Regions from separate parts of the Homo sapiens genome. Here regions 1 and 2 are each linked to region 3. The links are contacts of gene promoters, found by promoter capture Hi-C in human tissues and cell types (Jung and others, 2019). All regions are on one chromosome and are shown on one strand. The core of a region is centred on a gene start or on the middle of the fragment in contact, and the rest is flanking DNA. Distances in the headings are between cores, read along the strand shown.

The links. Contacts are between HindIII fragments. The study calls those that stand out against the background at their distance.
Region 1: a fragment that was not itself captured here is called in contact with the fragment with the promoter of DOCK7 in region 3 in 11 of the 25 tissues and cell types used here (IMR-90 fibroblasts, aorta, bladder and 8 more).
Region 2: a fragment that was not itself captured here is called in contact with the fragment with the promoter of DOCK7 in region 3 in 4 of the 25 tissues and cell types used here (bladder, hippocampus, psoas muscle and 1 more).

What each region holds. Positions count from the first base shown.
Region 1 is chr1:62,602,150-62,606,501 of GRCh38, forward strand. The region is part of intron 14 of DOCK7 (dedicator of cytokinesis 7); the gene reads right to left. ANGPTL3 (angiopoietin like 3) reads left to right here. Exons shown (of 7, transcript NM_014495.4): 5 at 136-231; 6 at 1,820-2,086; 7 at 2,484-4,164. The coding sequence ends at 2,668. Among named protein-coding and RNA genes, the nearest start is that of ANGPTL3, 6.8 kb to the left of the region's middle. The HindIII fragment of the contact is 5,855 bases long and covers 1-4,352 here.
Region 2 is chr1:62,574,534-62,578,885 of GRCh38, forward strand. It overlaps DOCK7 (dedicator of cytokinesis 7), which reads right to left. Exons shown (of 50, transcript NM_001367561.1): 17 at 4,295-4,352; 18 at 2,729-2,830. Among named protein-coding and RNA genes, the nearest start is that of ANGPTL3, 21 kb to the right of the region's middle. The HindIII fragment of the contact is 4,591 bases long and covers 808-4,352 here.
Region 3 is chr1:62,686,171-62,690,835 of GRCh38, forward strand. It overlaps DOCK7 (dedicator of cytokinesis 7), which reads right to left and starts at 2,216. Exons shown (of 50, transcript NM_001367561.1): 1 at 2,057-2,216. The coding sequence starts at 2,094. DOCK7-DT (DOCK7 divergent transcript) reads left to right here and starts at 2,312. Exons shown (of 2, transcript NR_185999.1): 1 at 2,312-2,482. RefSeq lists a silencer at 1,569-2,318 and an enhancer at 3,328-3,622. The HindIII fragment of the contact is 7,491 bases long and covers 85-4,665 here.

The sequences.
Region 1 (4,352 bases), core at 602-3,101, 84 kb before region 3:
AATAAAATGTATTGCCATAACATTAATAAACTACCTTACAAAACCACCAATTAAAATCAAACAAACAAAAAAGTGTTATTTACATCTGTCAACATAAATCTACTAAAAATACATGATTTCATTCATTATATTCAGGTAGTCCATGGACATTAATTCAACATCGAATAGATGGATCACAAAACTTCAATGAAACGTGGGAGAACTACAAATATGGTTTTGGGAGGCTTGATGGTAAGGGGACTACATTCAATCATTCATTCACTTGCTAATCTACAAATATTTACTGAGAACCTCTTATGGACCAGGTATTAGGAAAAGTAGTAACGAACGAGAAGCAGTCTCAGCCTTCATATAATTTATTATCAAACAATTACACATTTGTTAGTAAATTACACTTATTACAACTGTTATTATTTGAATTATATTTATCACAATTACATGTCTGTTCTTAAATATACTTATCACAATTTAATTCCACGGCTTACAATGATCATAACTATAATTATTAAAGACAATTTTGATTAAATGTTATGTCATAAGTAGTAACTGTTACAAATAAGCTGTGAAAAGAACCACTCCTAGCATTAGTCACTCTATTCTCTCATTAACGTTTTACATATCAATTAATTGGAAGTTAAAAGGACCAGGAAACTCAGACATACAGTATACATTTTAAAATTTCAATTATTTAAATATAATATATAGAATGTATGGCTTATAATGAATTAGTTAACTCAATGCAAATTATTCTATTTTGATTACAAATAGTAAAATAAGCAAGATAAAATAACAGATGTTTAAAATCCAAAAAGCACATACAAAAATCCATGAATGATGTCTAAGTACTCACTTATAAAGTAGAAGACATTCATTATTATATCAAATTTTTAAATGCTCAGTACTATTTGACCATTTAAAAATTTTGTATTCAAACTACCAGTGAAAGCCCTACCTAGAAGGTATACTCAGTGATAAGTTTTGTAGCTCCAAATCTTCTAATAGTGAGTGTAACCCCAAAATAAAAGGCTGACAGGTAAGTCGAGAATACTCACTTAATTCTGGTAAGAAAGCAACCCATTTGTACTTGTATTTACCAGCAATCCTTAAAATGAAGCTTCCTACTAACTCAATAGCAATAAGACAATAGTGAATGTTTAATGAAAACAGTATTTTATAAATACTTTAATAAAAAGGATTGTGATGAAGAACAATCTATTTATATTTGTTATTTGTTTTTAATTCCAATAAAAATAATTTTTAAAATTACAGAAAAAAGTTATTAAGAACCATGCTTTTAAATTTAAAATGATTTTTTAAATTTATTCCTGTCTTTTTCTACAAAGAAAGCATACATTAAGCAAATACCAAAGGCCAGGTTTACATTTGAAGAAAGTGACATTATTATTACTCAAGTCTCTAGGAATACTTAACACATCTCTTGACTGTATATGGATGTTAATAAATAGCTGACAGTAAAGTTTATCCATATAAAGACTTGCAAATATTCCTCTACCAATGACGAGACTTTAAAATATCTATAATAATGTAACACATTTCACTGGTGAAACATGTCTTGTCATATGCATTATAGAAAGGATAATCAGACTTTCAGTTATATTAATATTTTTAACATTTTTGTGCACATAGCTATCTTCAATAAAATTGTTTTAAAAGGTATTATTTTAAGATACACTAAAATGATCAAGGGATTCAAGACTAAACAACTCAATTAGTTGCACCAATAAAAAACACTTAAAAAAACTGTCAGTGTCCAACCTGTACTTAATAACTCACAGATTTTTAAAACTTTTCTTTTCAGGAGAATTTTGGTTGGGCCTAGAGAAGATATACTCCATAGTGAAGCAATCTAATTATGTTTTACGAATTGAGTTGGAAGACTGGAAAGACAACAAACATTATATTGAATATTCTTTTTACTTGGGAAATCACGAAACCAACTATACGCTACATCTAGTTGCGATTACTGGCAATGTCCCCAATGCAATCCCGGAAAACAAAGATTTGGTGTTTTCTACTTGGGATCACAAAGCAAAAGGACACTTCAACTGTCCAGAGGGTTATTCAGGTATCTTTTTCTGATACCAATACTTTATTTTCATATCTTCAAAGTATCTTCCCACATTATTAGCTATTATCTGCAATGACAACTTTTAAAAATCCGAATCCCAAATAAGCGTTTTCTCTCTAGACGAAAACCTCTTAACTATAATGAAAGTGTTCATTCTAGTTCAATCAGGTATTTTACCTCTAATCTTCCTCAGATTTTCTATTTTTTGGTAGTGTATAGATTATTTATACAGATTATTTAAAATTGGGACTTATACAGATTATTTAAAACTGGGATACATGCATCTAAAACACTGTAATATTTATAAGAAAGGAAGATAAACTTACGGGGAAATACAGTAACAGTAACTACATACGAGTCTGTACCCATTAAATTGCATATCTATCTCCTTTAGGAGGCTGGTGGTGGCATGATGAGTGTGGAGAAAACAACCTAAATGGTAAATATAACAAACCAAGAGCAAAATCTAAGCCAGAGAGGAGAAGAGGATTATCTTGGAAGTCTCAAAATGGAAGGTTATACTCTATAAAATCAACCAAAATGTTGATCCATCCAACAGATTCAGAAAGCTTTGAATGAACTGAGGCAAATTTAAAAGGCAATAATTTAAACATTAACCTCATTCCAAGTTAATGTGGTCTAATAATCTGGTATTAAATCCTTAAGAGAAAGCTTGAGAAATAGATTTTTTTTATCTTAAAGTCACTGTCTATTTAAGATTAAACATACAATCACATAACCTTAAAGAATACCGTTTACATTTCTCAATCAAAATTCTTATAATACTATTTGTTTTAAATTTTGTGATGTGGGAATCAATTTTAGATGGTCACAATCTAGATTATAATCAATAGGTGAACTTATTAAATAACTTTTCTAAATAAAAAATTTAGAGACTTTTATTTTAAAAGGCATCATATGAGCTAATATCACAACTTTCCCAGTTTAAAAAACTAGTACTCTTGTTAAAACTCTAAACTTGACTAAATACAGAGGACTGGTAATTGTACAGTTCTTAAATGTTGTAGTATTAATTTCAAAACTAAAAATCGTCAGCACAGAGTATGTGTAAAAATCTGTAATACAAATTTTTAAACTGATGCTTCATTTTGCTACAAAATAATTTGGAGTAAATGTTTGATATGATTTATTTATGAAACCTAATGAAGCAGAATTAAATACTGTATTAAAATAAGTTCGCTGTCTTTAAACAAATGGAGATGACTACTAAGTCACATTGACTTTAACATGAGGTATCACTATACCTTATTTGTTAAAATATATACTGTATACATTTTATATATTTTAACACTTAATACTATGAAAACAAATAATTGTAAAGGAATCTTGTCAGATTACAGTAAGAATGAACATATTTGTGGCATCGAGTTAAAGTTTATATTTCCCCTAAATATGCTGTGATTCTAATACATTCGTGTAGGTTTTCAAGTAGAAATAAACCTCGTAACAAGTTACTGAACGTTTAAACAGCCTGACAAGCATGTATATATGTTTAAAATTCAATAAACAAAGACCCAGTCCCTAAATTATAGAAATTTAAATTATTCTTGCATGTTTATCGACATCACAACAGATCCCTAAATCCCTAAATCCCTAAAGATTAGATACAAATTTTTTACCACAGTATCACTTGTCAGAATTTATTTTTAAATATGATTTTTTAAAACTGCCAGTAAGAAATTTTAAATTAAACCCATTTGTTAAAGGATATAGTGCCCAAGTTATATGGTGACCTACCTTTGTCAATACTTAGCATTATGTATTTCAAATTATCCAATATACATGTCATATATATTTTTATATGTCACATATATAAAAGATATGTATGATCTATGTGAATCCTAAGTAAATATTTTGTTCCAGAAAAGTACAAAATAATAAAGGTAAAAATAATCTATAATTTTCAGGACCACAGACTAAGCTGTCGAAATTAACGCTGATTTTTTTAGGGCCAGAATACCAAAATGGCTCCTCTCTTCCCCCAAAATTGGACAATTTCAAATGCAAAATAATTCATTATTTAATATATGAGTTGCTTCCTCTATTTGGTTTCCTTAAAAAAAAAAAAAACTCTCATAGGACATGTTTCATTTTGTTCCTTTCAGGAGTAGTAAATTAGACGTTTTCCCCATATAAAGCTTTTTTCTACCAGAAAGATACTTCTGGTAGAAGAAGAGAAAGGAGCTCTTTATGGTTCACACGACTGTCTCCTGTCCTAACTACTTTGCTTAAAGTGCTCAAA
Region 2 (4,352 bases), core at 1,853-4,352, 110 kb before region 3:
CTTTTAAACCAGTGCCAGACATTGAGGCAGCAAACATAGAAGAAACAGTGTCAGAAAACAAACTGACATTATACAACATGGCAGAAGGGTTATTCAAGACTGCTTTTGACTTCTTTTAAAACATGGACCCATCTGTGCTAAGGGCACTAAAACTAAAACAAACGAATAAAGATTGGCACCACATAGAAATATTTTTTTTCTTTTTTTTATATTGAGACAGAGTCTCACTCTGCCGCCCAGGCTGGAGTGCAGTGGCACAATCTCGGCTTACTGTCAACCTCTGCCTCCCGGGTTCAAGCGATTCTCACGCCTCAGCCTCACAAGTAGCTGGAATTACAGGTGCCTGCCACCACACCTGGCTAATTTTTTGTATTTTTAGTAGAGAAGGAGTTTTGCCATGTTAGCCCTGATGTTCTTGAACTGCTGACCTCAGGTGATCTGCCCACCTCGGCCTCCCAAAGTGCTGGGATTACAGGCATGAGCCACCACACCTGGCCAGAAACACTTTCTTAAAAGAGATGGGGTCTTGCTATGTTTCCCAGGCTGGAGGGCACTGGCTAGTCAAAGGCACAACCACAGCAAAGTGCAGCCTCGAACTCCAGAACTCGAGTGATCCTCTCAAGAAGCTGGGATTACAGGTGTGCCACTGCATCCTGCTCTGGAAATATTTTTAGAGGAATGAAAAAGCAAAAATGTCAGACAGAAATTATGATGTATTTCTGTAAAGTTACACCAAGTGTGCCTGCTTCCCCTTCCACCTCTTCTGCCTCTGCTACCTCTAAGATAGCAAGACCAATCCCTACTCTTCCTCCTCCTCCTCAGCCTACCCATCATGAAGACAATGAGGATGAAGGCCTTGATGACGATCCACTTCTACTTAGTGATAGTAAATATATTTTCTGTGCCTTATGATTTTCTTAAGAACATTTTCTTTCCTCTATATCACTTTAAGAATATGGTATATAATACATTTAACATACGAAATACATGCTAATTAACTGTTTATGTTACTGGTAAGGCTTTCAGTCAACAGTAAGCTATTATATTAGCAGTTAAGTTTTTAGGGAGTCAAAAGTTATACGTGGATTTTTCAAGTGCATGCTAGGGAGGAGGGATGTCACCCCTTACTGCCATGTTGTTTAAGGGTCAACTGTTTACAAAAGTTTTGGCTCTTAATCAGGTGGCTTATTTCACATATCAAGCAGCTATATTATATGTCTACAGTCAAATCCAAATTATCACCATATTCTTGATCTGTGAGCATATACAGTATGGTAGCTAGAAGAAAATCATGAGTCTCCCTTTAGAAAGCTGAACTTGCACTGCAATTAAGTAAAAACAAATCCTTAACTTCAACAAAAATATATTTTCTTTTAAAACATCTCCTTTGAAACATAATGCTCTCTGACAAATGGCCACCTTTCTATATAACAAAGTCACATGAAAAAGTCATCACTGAAAAGATGTGTCCCTGGAAAAATGAATGAAAGATTGGGAGGAGGGAGAGTCATATTTCTTACTCTACTGTCTTTATTCATTAATCTAATAAGTATATATTGAGTGTCTATGATGTGCCAAGTACTGTTCTAAATACTTGTAGACAGCAATGAGCAAGACAGACAAAGTTCCTACCCTCATAGTGTTTATACTCTATAGAGAATAAATAAGCAAAAAACATTTTAAATACAAAGTCAATGATAAATGACATGAGGAAAAATAAAGAGATAAAGTGGGAGAGGCTGCTATTTAGAATAATCATAGATGACTTCCTTGGTGAGGTGATATTTGAGTAGAGGTCTGAGTAAAATGAAGAACCAGGCTTTGTGATAGAGCACTGCCAGCAGAGGGAAGAGCAAAGGGCCTGAAATGCAAATGCACTTTTCGTGTGTAAGGAACAGCAGAGGCTCTGTGCTATGTGGCTATCAAAAGTGAGTGACAGAGAACAGTGAGAAATAAGATCAGAGCAATAGCCTTGAATTGTTTTTTAAAAATAAAAATACATAAAAATTTATTTGTGAATACATTTTGAATTGTATTCTGAAAACAAATAGCACCAGGAAAATATTCACAAAACGTATTTTAGAGTAACATTTACCAGCAGTTATATTCAAAATCATTAAGAGACACTGACAACCATTGTGTTTCTCTCAAGAGGAACTTTGGTTTATGAACGGTGGCTATTGATTCTTGATTGAGATTTTTCCAATATTTGTGTTACAAGTCTTTCAAATCCCATATGTAATCATCAAAGTTGCCAATATCTCATGTATTACAGGTTCACAGCTACTTTGTTTTCATTCACATGATCTTCAATTACAAAAAGATTCTAAAAAATTAATTTAAATCTGTTTTCCTTCCTCCAGTCTTTTAGTGAAATGTTAAGTCTACTAAAAATAAAAAAGAAATATTCATTTATTTAAAGAAGTTTCTCAAGTTACAGTATGAAAATTCTCCAAAATGATCTTTTGAGTTTACATTCCATGTATTATTTTGGTTTTAAAATGAGGATATTTACATTTAAAATGAAATTTAAATTTAAATTTAAAAACAGGATAAAAGCTTTTAAGTTTTATGTAAAAGAATTTTAACCACGGGAGAAAATACTTTTCCTTCATTATCTATAAACTTTAAGTAGAAGAAATGGCAAGAGTTTGCTTGGTAAAAACATCTTTATAGTAAAAAACCCATTTCATTCAATCTGGAGAAAGTCAACATGGGAGACACTGACCTCAGGAGACAGTACAGAATAAGCCTGTGGTGGTTTTTCCAATGAGACTGGCAAGCAAAACTGGCCAGTCTTCAACCGTCCATTCTGAAGCATTGGTATCCACTTTTAAATGAAAAGAAAACAATTTTATTTTAAATATGCTTGCTATAAAAATAATTACTTAGCATGTTTTAAGAACTTGGTACAAGCCAAATTTGTCCCATATCATCAAACATTAAGGGATTTAATTATACAAGTAATAATAATAATAGGCCTTCATAATCCCTCTAAAGAGAAGTTTCCCTAATGAAATTTTATTAAGGAGGATATCACCAAAACATTATTATTACTAACCATGCAATATTAAAATCTAGAGGCAAAAAGTTGGTCTTAGAAAAAAGCCATGAAGTAAATCCATTTTAAAACTGAGATAATCATTTCAATGTAAATAGTGAAAGAAATAATTGATTGAGACAGGAATGATAGAAACAAAAAGTATGATCATAAATTTATTTTCTTACAGTTAGAGCAAAACTCATGTCACAAACTGCAAGAGACAAAAATAATGAATCAAATGTTGGCTTTTCTCTTCTGGCTGAAAGCATAATTTTTCTGACAGAACTGTGTTATACCATGACTTCCTTCATCTTAGGTTTATCTTTGCAATTCAACCATAGTAATTTTTTTTTTCTTTTTTTTTGAGACAAGAGTCTCACTCCATCGCCCAGGCCAGAGTGCAATGGCATGATCTTGGCTCACTGCAACCTCTGCCTCCCGGGCTCAAGCAATCCTCCCATCTCAGCCTCCCTAGCAGCTGGGATCACAGGTGCACGACACCACGCCTAGCTAATTTTTGTATTTTTGGTAGAGATGGGGTTATGCCAAGCTGGAAAGCATAATTTTGAAAAATACTCAAGGGTTTTAATTTATTCTCCAATAGTCTCTTTTACTCATTTTATATAAAATCATTATCTGCTGAAGAGTCTATGAACCTATTATATTTATACTGCATTGTTGGGTATACACCTAATAATCAGGACCAACACCCAAGTGTTTATACGTGTTAGTCAATAAATCAATTAATTACATTAGTTAATTACATTAATGGGCATTTTCTTGTTATAATGGCTCTTCCTAATCAATGCAACTTCATAACTGTGGGGAATCAGACAAGAAATATTTAAATAACAAGAAACAGGCCAGGCGCCATGGCTCACGCCTGTAATCCTAGCACTTTGGGAGGCCGAGGCAGGCAGATCACTTGAAGCCAAGAGTTTGAGACCAACTTGGCAAACATGGTGAAACCCCATCTCTACTAAAAATACAAAAAAATTAGTTGGACATGGTGGCGGGCACCTGTAATCCCAGCTATTCAGGAGGCTGAGGCAGGAAAACTGCTTGAACCCAGGAAACGGAGGTTGCAGTGAGCCAAGATCGCGCCACTGCACTCCAGCCTGGGAGACAGAGACTCTGTCTCAAAAAAAAAAAAAAAAAAAAAACCCACAAATGACCAGAAATATCAATTATATCTTAAATATCACCATTATTTTAGCTCTTTGATCTAAATATTGAACCAAAAGGACTCACTGTATATCCAACTGGTGTTTCAAGAGGAGTATTTTGTTTTTGTTGACAACTAACATGA
Region 3 (4,665 bases), core at 966-3,465:
TTTTTTTTTTTTTTTTTTTTTTGAGACGGAGTCTCGCTCTGTCGCCCAGGCCGGACTGCGGACTGCAGTGGCGCAATCTCGGCTCACTGCAAGCTCCGCTTCCCGGGTTCACGCCATTCTCCTGCCTCAGCCTCCCGAGTAGCTGGGACTACAGGCGCCCGCCACCGCGCCCGGCTAATTTTTTGTATTTTTTTTTTTTAGTAGAGACGGGGTTTCACCTTGTTAGCCAGGATGGTCTCGATCTCCTGACCTCATGATCCACCCGCCTCGGCCTCCCAAAGTGCTGGGATTACAGGCGTGAGCCACCGCGCCCGGCCAGTAATAACATTTTTTAATGACATCATCATCAGAAGTAAGACCTAATTATTTTACAAAAAAAAAAAATTTCCTGTCATCATAACTCCCTGGGAGAAACTAATTACTACAAGTGTTTGATGACAGGTAGTATAGGCCCTGTACTATCCTACGCACATTACACAAATTATGCCACTTAATGTTCACAACAACACTATGAGCTGGGTCCTATTATTATTCTCATTTGCCAGACGAGGAAACGGAAATTTGGCCCAACAACTTGGCCAAAGTCCCAAGCTAGAAAATACCAATCAGGATTTGAACCCATGTCGGGGTCTGAGAGTAGAGCCCATGCTCTTAAACACTTGCTATTTTGCCCCTTCAGGAAAAAAAAAGTGCTAGAACGCTGGAAAGAAAGAAAAAAAAAAGCCTCTGCCTCGAAAGCAGCTAGGACGACAGGTGCAACACCACACCTGGCTAATTTTTTTGCAGAGATGGGGTGGGGGGGACTCGCTATGTTGCCCAGGCTGGTCTTGAACTCCTGGCCTCAAGCGATCCTCCTGCCTCGGCCTCCCAAACTGCTGGGATTACAGGCCTGAGCCACTGCATCCGGCCCAAAATTTTTAAAGAAATGTCAGCAAACTAAAAAGACTCAGAGCCACAGAACTACAACTGCCCCAAAACAAAAAAAGGTAATTTAATATGAATGCTTCTTTTCTTGGGACATCATAATTCACACAAATATGATTTTATTAAAACAAAAATGTCTACTGTCTCATACATAAGTATACTCCACAAAGAAATTCTACAAATATTAGAGTCCTCTGTCATTTAATTTTTATTTGGCGGGTGGGAGAAAGGTGGCAACCAACCACCACAAGTAGGTGAAAGGCTTTGAAACCTCCACCTCAATCACTTGCTTTACTTCAAGACTGCAATCACTTGCTTTACTTCAAGACTGCTAACATATAAAAGGATGTCAGTGTATAAAGAACACTGCCTATCATCCATCTTCTCGGGTGCTCTGAGAAACACAGGCGCACAGTTAAATTCACAGGCGAACTCAGAACAAGCTTCAGCCTGCAATCCGTCAGGGATTCGGCAGCTGCACACCGAAGGTGCAGCCCGCAGCTCTCAACTTTTCATTCTGTCCACACGTTTTCAATCCTGGACGCACAAGTCCACTTTGAACCTGGCCCGAGGGTGCAAAGAGGGTTCCTGTCAGATTTCTCAGGAAGAGAGAGACGCGTGAAGGAGGGGCGGCCTCCCACCCGCCCCGAGCCGCCGCGCGTTTCTCCTTTTGTTGGGGTGGAGGAGGGCGGACCCCGCACCCTCTAGGGGCCAAGAGGGGTGGGCGGAGAGACGGGAGGGGGCGAAACGCCGCGGCGGCCCCCGACGAGCCCGGGGGTGGGAACACAAAGAATTTGGGAAGCGGCCGACCGCCCTTCCATAAACCTCCGCAGAAGTCCAGGCCCGGGCCGCCGAGGAGCAGGAGGAGGCGGGCGCGCTGGAGTCCGCGGCCCTCTCCGCTCCCTGCCGAGGCTCAGCGGCGGGCGCGGGCTGAAGGCCGGGGTTCGAGGGCGGCGCGAGGCCTCCGCTACCCCCTCAGCCACCCCGAACCCCTTCCGCCCCGCCGCGAGCCAGGCCGCGGGATCCCGGTGCCGGCCCCGCCACACCCACCCGCCTCCTAGGCCAGGCCTGGGAGGACTCCGCGGCTCTTTCTCGGGCGGCGGCGGCGGCGCGCCCCACGCCGGATATTTACCTGCTGATCTTCTGGGCGAAGGCGCGGCGCTCGGCCATGGCTGCTGCGGCGACGGCGACGGCGGCGGCGGCTGCGGCGGGCCGGGTGCGGACCGGCGGGCGCGTGCCTCCTCGCTCGTGCTCCCTCCCTCGCGGCCTCCGCCAGTCCGGGCTCCGGACCTGGGAGGCTGGGGCTGGCGGCCGGAGCCAGGAACGAGCCCTGCCGTAATGTTCCTTAGAGGCGCGCAACGAGAAACCGCTCCTCCCCCAGCGCGTCAATCCCGGCGGGAACCCCGGCTGCGGAAGGCGGCTGCGGCCGGCGGGAGCCGAGGGGAAGAATGGAGCGCTGAGGAAGCGAGGCGCCAGCCCCAGCCGCTTCGCTGCCGCGGAGCCTGCACGACCGAGAGGTCGCGGAGAGAAGCCAGAGACAGGCCAGCGACCTGGCGAGGCAAGAAAATAAGATAACCGAACGCGTAGGGGGAGCTTGGCTTTCCCGAAATGGAAGGGAAGGAAATGAAAGGTGGGCTTTGCCGAGGGGGCTGTGCTTTAACCAAAGCCCTGGATGACTGGGTTCATGTTTCTGCAGCACCGGTCTCCGAGCTTTTTAAAGCACTTGGGTTTCTGCTTCGGCCTCATGAATGCAGCCTAACTGGAGAAACAGTGGTTTTTCTTATAGAGAAAGAGCCAGAAAATACCTTGCTCCTGCAGCGATAACAATAGTAATAGTTGACTTCTGGTGCTTAGCCAGCCACTGGATTAAAGTTTTTCAAGCACGAGCGCTTTGAAGTAGATCGTTACTATCACTATTTTAGAGGGAAGGAAATTGGCTTGGAAAAGCTAAGTGACTGGCCCCAGGTCGCACAGATGGTAAACTCTTCCACTGAGACTCAAACCCAGAGCCGGTTCTTTTCTTTGAGGACAGTTGTTTCCGTATTATTAACCCCTTTTGGATCTCTCTCTGTCTCTCATACATACATATATATATATATATATATATATATATATATATATATATATATATATATAAAATCCAGGTGAGCTCTAACGTTCACCCCCATTTTGATGTTCTGTTAAATAAGCTCTGTGTTGACCACTGAAACTGACCTTGTCCATAATAGCCTATAAAACAGAGACTAGCAGAGATTTGTTTTCATCTGTTCTGTTGTAATCCCATAATGTCTAGAATATTTGGCTCCTAATGCATATCTGTTGATACTGAAATTATGGTGACACTAAGAAAAATATCTTGGTTTCTTGTAGTACCTTTCCTCTTAAGTATTGCAAGAACTTAAAATGTGTATTTATTTATTGTTATTATTATATTCTCAGTATGTCCTGGTGGAATATGTTGGATACCTGTTTTCCTCTCTTTTACCATTGGAAAATCTGTAGCTTGGAGCCATTAGGTCACTTGCCAGAGTCACACACTGAGTCAGAGGTGAAAGCCTCAATTAGTCAGATCCATAACTTCCTGTCTAGTGCTGTAACTTCTGTGGAAGACTGTGTATTTATATAACAATGCTCATTGCAGTAACACACTGCTTTTATTTATTGATTTATTTATTTTAGACAGAATCCCCCTGTGTTGCTCAAGCATGGAATGCATAGGGCACTGCAGCCTAAAACTCCTAGGCTCAAGCAATCCTCTTGCCTCAGCCTCTGGAGGAGTAGCTAGTACCACAGGCTCTTGCCAAGGCGCCCTCCAGTAACACACTGTTTTCAGATGCTTGTTTACTAAAGGAAAAGATAGTCTATTCAAAGAGGACAGATATTTGGCTTCTACCTAAGTATAGAGCCCACCTAGGTGTTCTAAAAAACACGAAGGTGAACTAGACACAGACCTGCTCTCAGAATGTTTGAGTCCATTGGGAAAGATGAACCAGGTACTCACAGACTGTAAGTCAAGGCTATCACTGTACCTGGCTTTTAAGACCCTCTGTGATAGGAACCCAGACTTATTTTGCCACTTTCTTACTCTGTAACCTTAGGCAAGCTACTTAACTTCATCTCTAAAAGGAGGAAAATAATTATATCTACTTGAAAGGGTGTTGTGAAGATTTATTGAATTGATTAATATAAAGTTCTTAGAACAGGGCCTGGTTCATGGTAAGTACGATGTGTGTCAGCTGTTGTTATTATTATCACTGTTACTGTCATTATTCATCCTATACTTAAGCTTGTCCTGGGTGTTTGATAGTCCCTGAATTGGTTGTCTGCTCTCATACTCCCAGCCAGATGTTGCATGCCTTTATCTCTGTTCTCCAAACATCTTTTCACTACTCTCTTAGAGAACTGGCCACATTTTGCTTTGAATAGTTCTTTGTATACATGACTCACTAGTTGCCAAAGTGTCTGAAAGGACTTTGCATGTACTCTGCAGCTTACTGGAAACATTTAGAGCAGGAAGAGGACAAGCAGGATCACGCTGTAAGCAGGGTAATTCAGAGTCTGGGGAACACTCTAAGCAGGAAGGGTGACCCCCTACCTCTGGGGAAGAGCTGGCAGTCACAGACCAAGTCATGTTGGCTGGTATCCCTGCCCCACAGGGTTTCAATGTCAGGAAAAGATATGGAACGCAGCAATGGGAGTGACAGTGGAATTGCTTCAGCTGACTAGCATCCATGCTCCCTA